2 separate regions of the Homo sapiens genome follow, and region 2 is linked to region 1. The links are contacts of gene promoters, found by promoter capture Hi-C in blood cells and fetal thymus (Javierre and others, 2016). All regions are on one chromosome and are shown on one strand. Each heading gives the region's core, a stretch centred on a gene start or on the middle of the fragment in contact. The rest is flanking DNA. Distances are from core to core; before and after follow the strand shown. Region 1 holds the start of OR52B4 (olfactory receptor family 52 subfamily B member 4). Region 2 has its middle 14 kb from the start of OR52K1.

The links. Contacts are between HindIII fragments. The CHiCAGO score rates a contact against its expected background, and 5 or more counts as called.
Region 2: a contact is called between a fragment that was not itself captured here and the fragment with the promoter of OR52B4 in region 1, in 5 of 17 cell types (monocytes, M0 macrophages, neutrophils and 2 more). The highest score is 8.9, in monocytes.

What each region holds. Positions count from the first base shown.
Region 1 is chr11:4,366,387-4,370,050 of GRCh38, reverse strand. OR52B4 (olfactory receptor family 52 subfamily B member 4) reads left to right here and starts at 1,665. Exons shown (of 1, transcript NM_001005161.3): 1 at 1,665-2,788. The coding sequence starts at 1,756. The coding sequence ends at 2,700. The HindIII fragment of the contact is 6,509 bases long and covers 1-3,664 here.
Region 2 is chr11:4,495,055-4,498,718 of GRCh38, reverse strand. No RefSeq gene overlaps it. Among named protein-coding and RNA genes, the nearest start is that of OR52K1, 14 kb to the right of the region's middle. RefSeq lists an enhancer at 2,374-3,573. The HindIII fragment of the contact is 2,131 bases long and covers 863-2,993 here.

The DNA.
Region 1 (3,664 bases), core at 416-2,915:
GGCTAGATGGAATTTACTGAAGGGAAGAAAAGAGAAGCAATCCAGTAACTAGTAGGCACCCTAAGAGTTAGACCAGAGATGAGAAAACATAAAATATATTGATGTAGGCTGCAAACAACTCTTGGCATAATATGAAAGGAGCCCTGAAAATGGCAGGGAACTGAGTCACCTGCCCCAAGCCACACATTGGAAGGAGCTTTGTGGAGGCAGCCAGGGCATCCTAGCAGGTGTGAAAAATAACTAAGAGCCAATTATCCTCCCCAGAAAGAAGAGGATGCACCAAGAGTGTGAACTAGAATGGAAGAAAAAATATTACTGATCATAAGATATATCTTAGCCAACAACTAAATATTTTAAGATATTCCTTTATTTAATATCCTCAGAAACCCCATGAAGAGTGTATTTTATTATTTGTTGCCATTTCTTCATTCCATTGAAAATGGGATTCAATATGGCTGTCTTCTCAGAAGGCACTCTCTGAAGCCATTCCACATGGAACATTTAGTAAATCTATTTACTCACAAGCCCACCATTCTCTGAAACCATAAAGCTATTTAGGACTCAGGCACATAGCATGATGCAGGAAAAAATAGTCAATGCTCAAAATATGCCTGTGAATGAATCCACTAATGAGTGAAGAAGAATATTCTAGGAAGTAAATGATGAAGTTACATGTTCATTTCTACCAGCAGAAGAATTTCTCAAATATCAAGAACTGCAACCCCTCTTCATCCCCCAGAAATAACTCTTTACCTAATTTCAGTCACTTCTAAGCCTAGTTCCCTGGGGTGTGAGCACAAAGAGTGCCTCATCTCAGATAAAGAGGTACCTTGACCCTCTTCATAAGTGAGCAAACTGTATGTGGTGAAGTCAGAGGTTTCAAATCTCATTTCTATCAATTGCTGCTTTGTGACAAGTGGCAAGTTATTCACATTGTCTAAGACTCACTTTCCTTAAGTGTGAAATAGGGGTACTATCCAGTTCTAAGAGTGGATGTCTACTCCCTGCATTAAGAACGTACAAAGTGCAAACTACAGCCCGTGGCATAAAGTGATGCTTAATAAACATTAGCTAAATTCTCCTGCGACTGTAATACAATAAGATTTTGTCCACTCCTGGAACACCACTGGCCTTTTAGGCTTTAGTGTCTTCAATCAATCAACGTTCCAACAAATATCAACAGATCATCTTTCTAAACTAATGACTGCCCCTGTGTAAAGGATGGGGCCTAAGAGTGAAGTTGTGATCGAAGCCCTTCACATTCAGGAAAAACCTGCCTATACCATCACCTCCCTTGTTCTCCTCAGTACTCCTTATGCACCAGCCACCCTGGCCTGAAAATATTTCAGAAACATACTGTGCATTGATCTGTACACTCACCTTTTCTTATGCTACTTTCTTTCTCTCTTCATTATTAACTTTACGATAAACTACTCAATTTTAAGTATCACCTTATTCAGCTTTCCCACACAGAAATAATAATTTCCTCTGTATATTCATAATCCTCCATTCATAATTAAAGCGCATACAATAATGTCTCTTATTCTGATTACTTGGAGATATTGTCTGGCTGTCATTCATTAGAGTATAGACCACCACCTTTCATATTTGCATGTTTGTTATTTACATGTTCAAAGAAGACGAAGATTATGGAATATGCCATAAGCTCCTGGTGACATCGCAAAGAATGTTGCAGATTTTATCTTCTTCTACCTCTGTGAGTAGGAGGTGAGGTTCTGAAAGTTCTCCCCAGCTATGCCTACTGTAAACCACAGTGGCACTAGCCACACAGTCTTCCACTTGCTGGGCATCCCTGGCCTACAGGACCAGCACATGTGGATTTCTATCCCATTCTTCATTTCCTATGTCACCGCCCTTCTTGGGAACAGCCTGCTCATCTTCATTATCCTCACAAAGCGCAGCCTCCATGAACCCATGTACCTCTTCCTCTGCATGCTGGCTGGAGCAGACATTGTCCTCTCCACGTGCACCATTCCTCAGGCCTTAGCTATCTTCTGGTTCCGTGCTGGGGACATCTCCCTGGATCGTTGCATCACTCAGCTCTTCTTCATCCATTCCACCTTCATCTCTGAGTCAGGGATCTTGCTGGTGATGGCCTTTGACCACTATATTGCCATATGCTACCCACTGAGGTACACCACCATTCTTACAAATGCTCTGATCAAGAAAATTTGTGTGACTGTCTCTCTGAGAAGTTATGGTACAATTTTCCCTATCATATTTCTTTTAAAAAGATTGACTTTCTGCCAGAATAATATTATTCCACACACCTTTTGTGAACACATTGGCCTAGCCAAATATGCATGTAATGACATTCGAATAAACATTTGGTATGGGTTTTCCATTCTAATGTCGACGGTGGTCTTAGATGTTGTACTAATTTTTATTTCCTATATGCTGATTCTCCATGCTGTCTTCCACATGCCTTCTCCAGATGCTTGCCACAAAGCTCTCAACACATTTGGCTCCCATGTCTGCATCATCATCCTCTTTTATGGGTCTGGCATCTTCACAATCCTTACCCAGAGGTTTGGACGCCACATTCCACCTTGTATCCACATCCCGTTGGCTAATGTCTGCATTCTGGCTCCACCTATGCTGAATCCCATTATTTATGGGATCAAAACCAAGCAAATCCAGGAACAGGTGGTTCAGTTTTTGTTTATAAAACAGAAATAACTTTGGTTTAAGAACTGAGTTTTCAGAATCTCTAGCTATCTGGTAAGTGGGTATGAAAGTGGTAGATGGGAGAGGTCAGCTGATACCGTAGGAAATAACTCAGTGAGTACGATGTCTGGAGCAAGGTCAACTGGGAAGTTACAGGGCTTATTCTTCCATTTTTTAAACAACCTAGGAAAGCAATGCAATGTTTGACTGAACAAACTACCTCCTGCACAGAGCCTGAGAGAGAATAGATTGATTTTTCAGAAGTCATGTATCCTTAACAGGACAACACTATCATAATCTTCGGAAATAAAGTGGGAACAGTGCTCTGGCATTGGAATTTGTTCAGCCATCCTGTACTGAGTTTCTGAAGCTCTGAGACACGTTGTATTCATGTAAAGTCACGTACAAACCTCCATTCTTTTATGTCCTTCATTCTAGCTAAGTGACATTCTTAGAATCAGTGATTCCTAGGTTTTCCATTTATTTCTATTATGTTATAATTTATATCCTATGAACATGAATGTCTATAATAGAGGATTGCAAATAAATTATGTGATTCATATTTTGCAGAACAACCCTTGAGGAACCTGAGTCTGATCATTTTTGTGTTGGGAAATGACATATGGTTTCTGAAGGTGTGGTGTGTGCTGGGGAAATTCTGAAGAAAGGGAACTCCTTCATTCTCAGTGTCAGGCTGTGTTCTTCAATGATCTCCTCCTCAGGAGGACATTCAAGATGTCTATTCACGTGAATTCTGCGTGCTTTTACAACCACACTTCCCAATACCTTCTATGCAACCTGAGCTTTAGATACACCAGGCCATTAATTTGTCCGTTTTCTCAGGTTATACCATACTCTTCGGGTACTCTGCCTTCTCTTGAGATAACCTCCATCAACTTGTGGAAAACTCTTATTCCTCCTTTCATATCTAATTCTCATGTCATCTCCTCTGTGACATTTTCTCCAATCACAATTC
Region 2 (3,664 bases), core at 679-3,178, 130 kb before region 1:
AGACAAAGGAACATTTGCACACTGTTGGTGGGAATGTAGACTAGTACAGCCATTATGGGGAAAAACTATGGCAGTTCCTTAAATTAAACTCTCATATAAAGTATAACTCTCATATGATCCAATAAACCCTCTTCTTGATGGATATCCACAGGAAATGAAAACCTCATGTTGAAAATAGGTCTGCACTCACATGTTCATTACAGCACTACTCACTATACCCAAGATATGGAATCAACCTAAATGGCCATCAACAGATGAGTGGAGAATGTGGTATGTATACACAACGGGATACTATTCAGCCTTAAAATCCCATCACTTGCAACAATATGGATGAATGTGGATGGCATTATGTTATAAGCCAGGCACAGAAAGACAAATACTATATAATCTCTCATATGTAATCTACAAAAGTGGAGATAGATGATGTTCAACAAAGCCAGCAATAACAAGCAATAGGGAAAGGACCCCCCTATTCAATAAATAGTGCTGGGATAACTGGCTAGCCATATGCAGAAGATTACTCCTGGATCCCTTCCTTACACCATATAAAAGAATCAATTCAAGATGGATTAAAGATTTAAATGCAAGTCTGAATAAAAAAACATATCTGATACCAGCCCTGTAGTTTGAACCTACTTCAGGGAATCCAGTACAATATAGTCAGTTCAGAGAAGTTGGCATGATTACGGATCCTGTGAGGGACAATTCTGCTTCAGAGAAAGAGAAAAGCAGGCTAGGGCTCCAGGGGAAAATCAAGGTACAAATAAGTGAAATTATCAAAATTATATATTATCTGGGCCCAAAACAATTCATTTGACGACAGATTTCTGAGGACTGTGGTCAATAAGCTTGGTGGTAAGCTTGAGCACTCAGAGTATCCCGGGGACACCAGGGGACAAGCCAGTACTAAGTACTCGACTTATTTAAACTTCATAAAAACCCTCCTGTATTATCTCAACCCTGTCCCTGTTCAGCCCTGCTGTAGGGCTCTCAACCTTCTGCCTGTTTGGCCTGGTAATGAGGCCCCAATCCTATCCCTCCACAGCCTAGTTTTCCATTTCTGAAGCCTGATTCTCTTTCCACAAATCAGGCTCCCTTGAAGCCTCAGGCTCCCCTGAAGCCTGGGTCTCTCTCGGAAAATCAGGTTCCCTTGAAGCCTGGGTCTCTCTCGGAAAATGTTTCCCTTGAAGCCTGGATCTCTCTTGGAATATCGGGTTCCCTTTAAGAAACCTCAGGCTCCCCTGTAGCCTGGTCTGCAATTACCGGGGCAGCCTGGATTTCAGGCCCATGAAAGATCTGCTCGGCAGGTAATCTCGTCTCATCCTGGTTTACAGGTTCTCAACTTTTCCTCCATTCAAAATTCCAACTTTTTTCTGCTTCTGGTCCGGTGGCTACTGTGACAAGTCACATACATTCCTAAAAATGAGACTCCTCTTATGAGGGCTATAGCACAGGCAAGAGAATATGGGGATCCCGAAGCCTGGCAATTTCCTCTAATTTTACAACCTCCAATACCTGCCTTCCCTGTGGCAAAAAATCAGCCACAACCCACTGATCTTGCTCAGCAGGCGGCTGATCTTGCGGCACCTTCACGCTCCGTGTTAATATCTTGTTTTTCTGCAGCACAACTGCAGTTGCAACAGCCAGTTTGGTTATTGCCCCAGAAAAAATCCAGACTTCTTCTCCTTATCACTATTTAGGAATGCAGCTAGAAGACAAGGTTATTAAGCCCCAAAAAATCATTGTTCCCCTCACCTGATTACAAGTCCAACAGGCTTTTGCAACCTGCATTGCTTGGCAAGTACATTTGGCACGTTTCCCGGGTATAACTGATTATCATTATCCTAATGCAAAACTATTCCGGTTCCTTAAACTCACTTCTTGGATCTTACCTTAACATTACTAGAAACACACCATTAGCTGAAGCTGTCACTGTTTTTACTGATGCTTCCTGTAATAATGGCCAAGCAGCATGTACCGGGCCAAGAGAATGTGTTCTTAACACAGGAGTTATTTCAGCACAACGAGCTGAGCTGATCGCTGTCATGGCTGTTCTTGAAGATTTCCCTGAACCAGTTAACATCGTTTCTGATTCGGCCTATGTAGTACATGTTGCTCGCAACGTTGAAACTGCCTTAATCAAACTTCTGCCTGATAACCTAATTTTTCTTTTCCAAAAGTTTCAATCCGTACTCACAGCAAGGTCTTCTTTCTACATTACTCATTCGGGCTCACACACCCCTCCCCGGACCCCTCTCGGCAGCAAATGCCAAAGCTGATACATTAGTTGCTCCCGTTTTTACAGATGCAGAAAATGTTCATGCTTTAACTCATGTCAGTGCTGCAGGACTCTGGAAAAAGTTCCCCTTTACAGGCAAACAAGCTAAAACCATCGTACATCACTGTCCTACTTGTCAAGTGTTAATGTTACAGCCACTTTCTTCAGGAGTTAATCCTAGAGGACTTTCACAAAATGCTCTCTGGCAAATGGATGTGACTCATTATCCTGCTTTCGGCAAACTCTCTTTTATACATTAACTATTGACACCTTTTCTCATTTTATCTGGGTCACTTGTCAAACAAGGGAAAGTATATGGTTCATGTTAAACGACACATACTTTCATCTTTCTCAGTTATGGGCTGTCCCGAGAAACTAAAAACTAATGACGGCCCCGGCTACACTAGTGCTGCTTTTTTACACTAAATTTCTTAAATTTAGTAAGAAATCAACCTTTTACAGCAGCAGAACATTTCACTGGAAATAAATTTGATCCACAAAAAGGAAAAGCGGGTATGGTGGAAAGATGCAAAACTGACAAACAGGAATCAGGCACTGTGGTAACATGGGGTAGGGGTTTTGCTGTGTTTGCCCAAAAGAAGGACAACAACCCGTGTGGGTTCCCTCCCGGCAACTGAAATTGCACTATAACTTCAAAGATAAAAAGCTCTCAGAAACAAAAGGCGAAGAAACGTCAGAAATTGAAAGGCAAGCTTTGCCGCCTGACACATAAATTCCATGACCTCAACATTATGACACAATCTCACCGTGTGACCTACAATACCAGTCATTCTACTCCACCAACATGGGGTCAAATAAAGGTCTTATCACATCAAACGGAAAAATTACTACAAGAAAAAGGAATTCCAAAAACAGGTAATATAATTCTGGCTGCCTTTATGGTAGTCAGTGTAGTGGTGAGTATACCAGCAGTTGGGGCAACTCAAAATTATGCTTCTTGCACATATGTTCCTTTTCCCCCTTTAATTCAGTCTGTCTCCTGGATGGACTCCTCAGTAGAAGTTTACACTAATAATAGTGCCTTCATGCCAGCCCCTAATGATGACAGCTTTCCAGCTCAACCAGAAGGAGATGTGCACTTTAATTTGTCAATCGGCTATAAATATCCACCACTGTGCATTGGAATGTCACCTGGCTGTTTAGCTTATTCTTATCAGAATTGGATGTGGACCATACCATCCTTGAGTAATGATTCTTATCAGGTACATAATGTGTTCAGTACCAACTCTTTTCAACTTATGATTGTTAAACTTAATCCACATGAGGACTGGAGGGTTCCTGTTACCACAAAAAATAACAAAAGGACTGCCAGACTGCTCCAATAAACCTACAAAGGGACCTTTTTTAGTAAATTCAATTGTATGG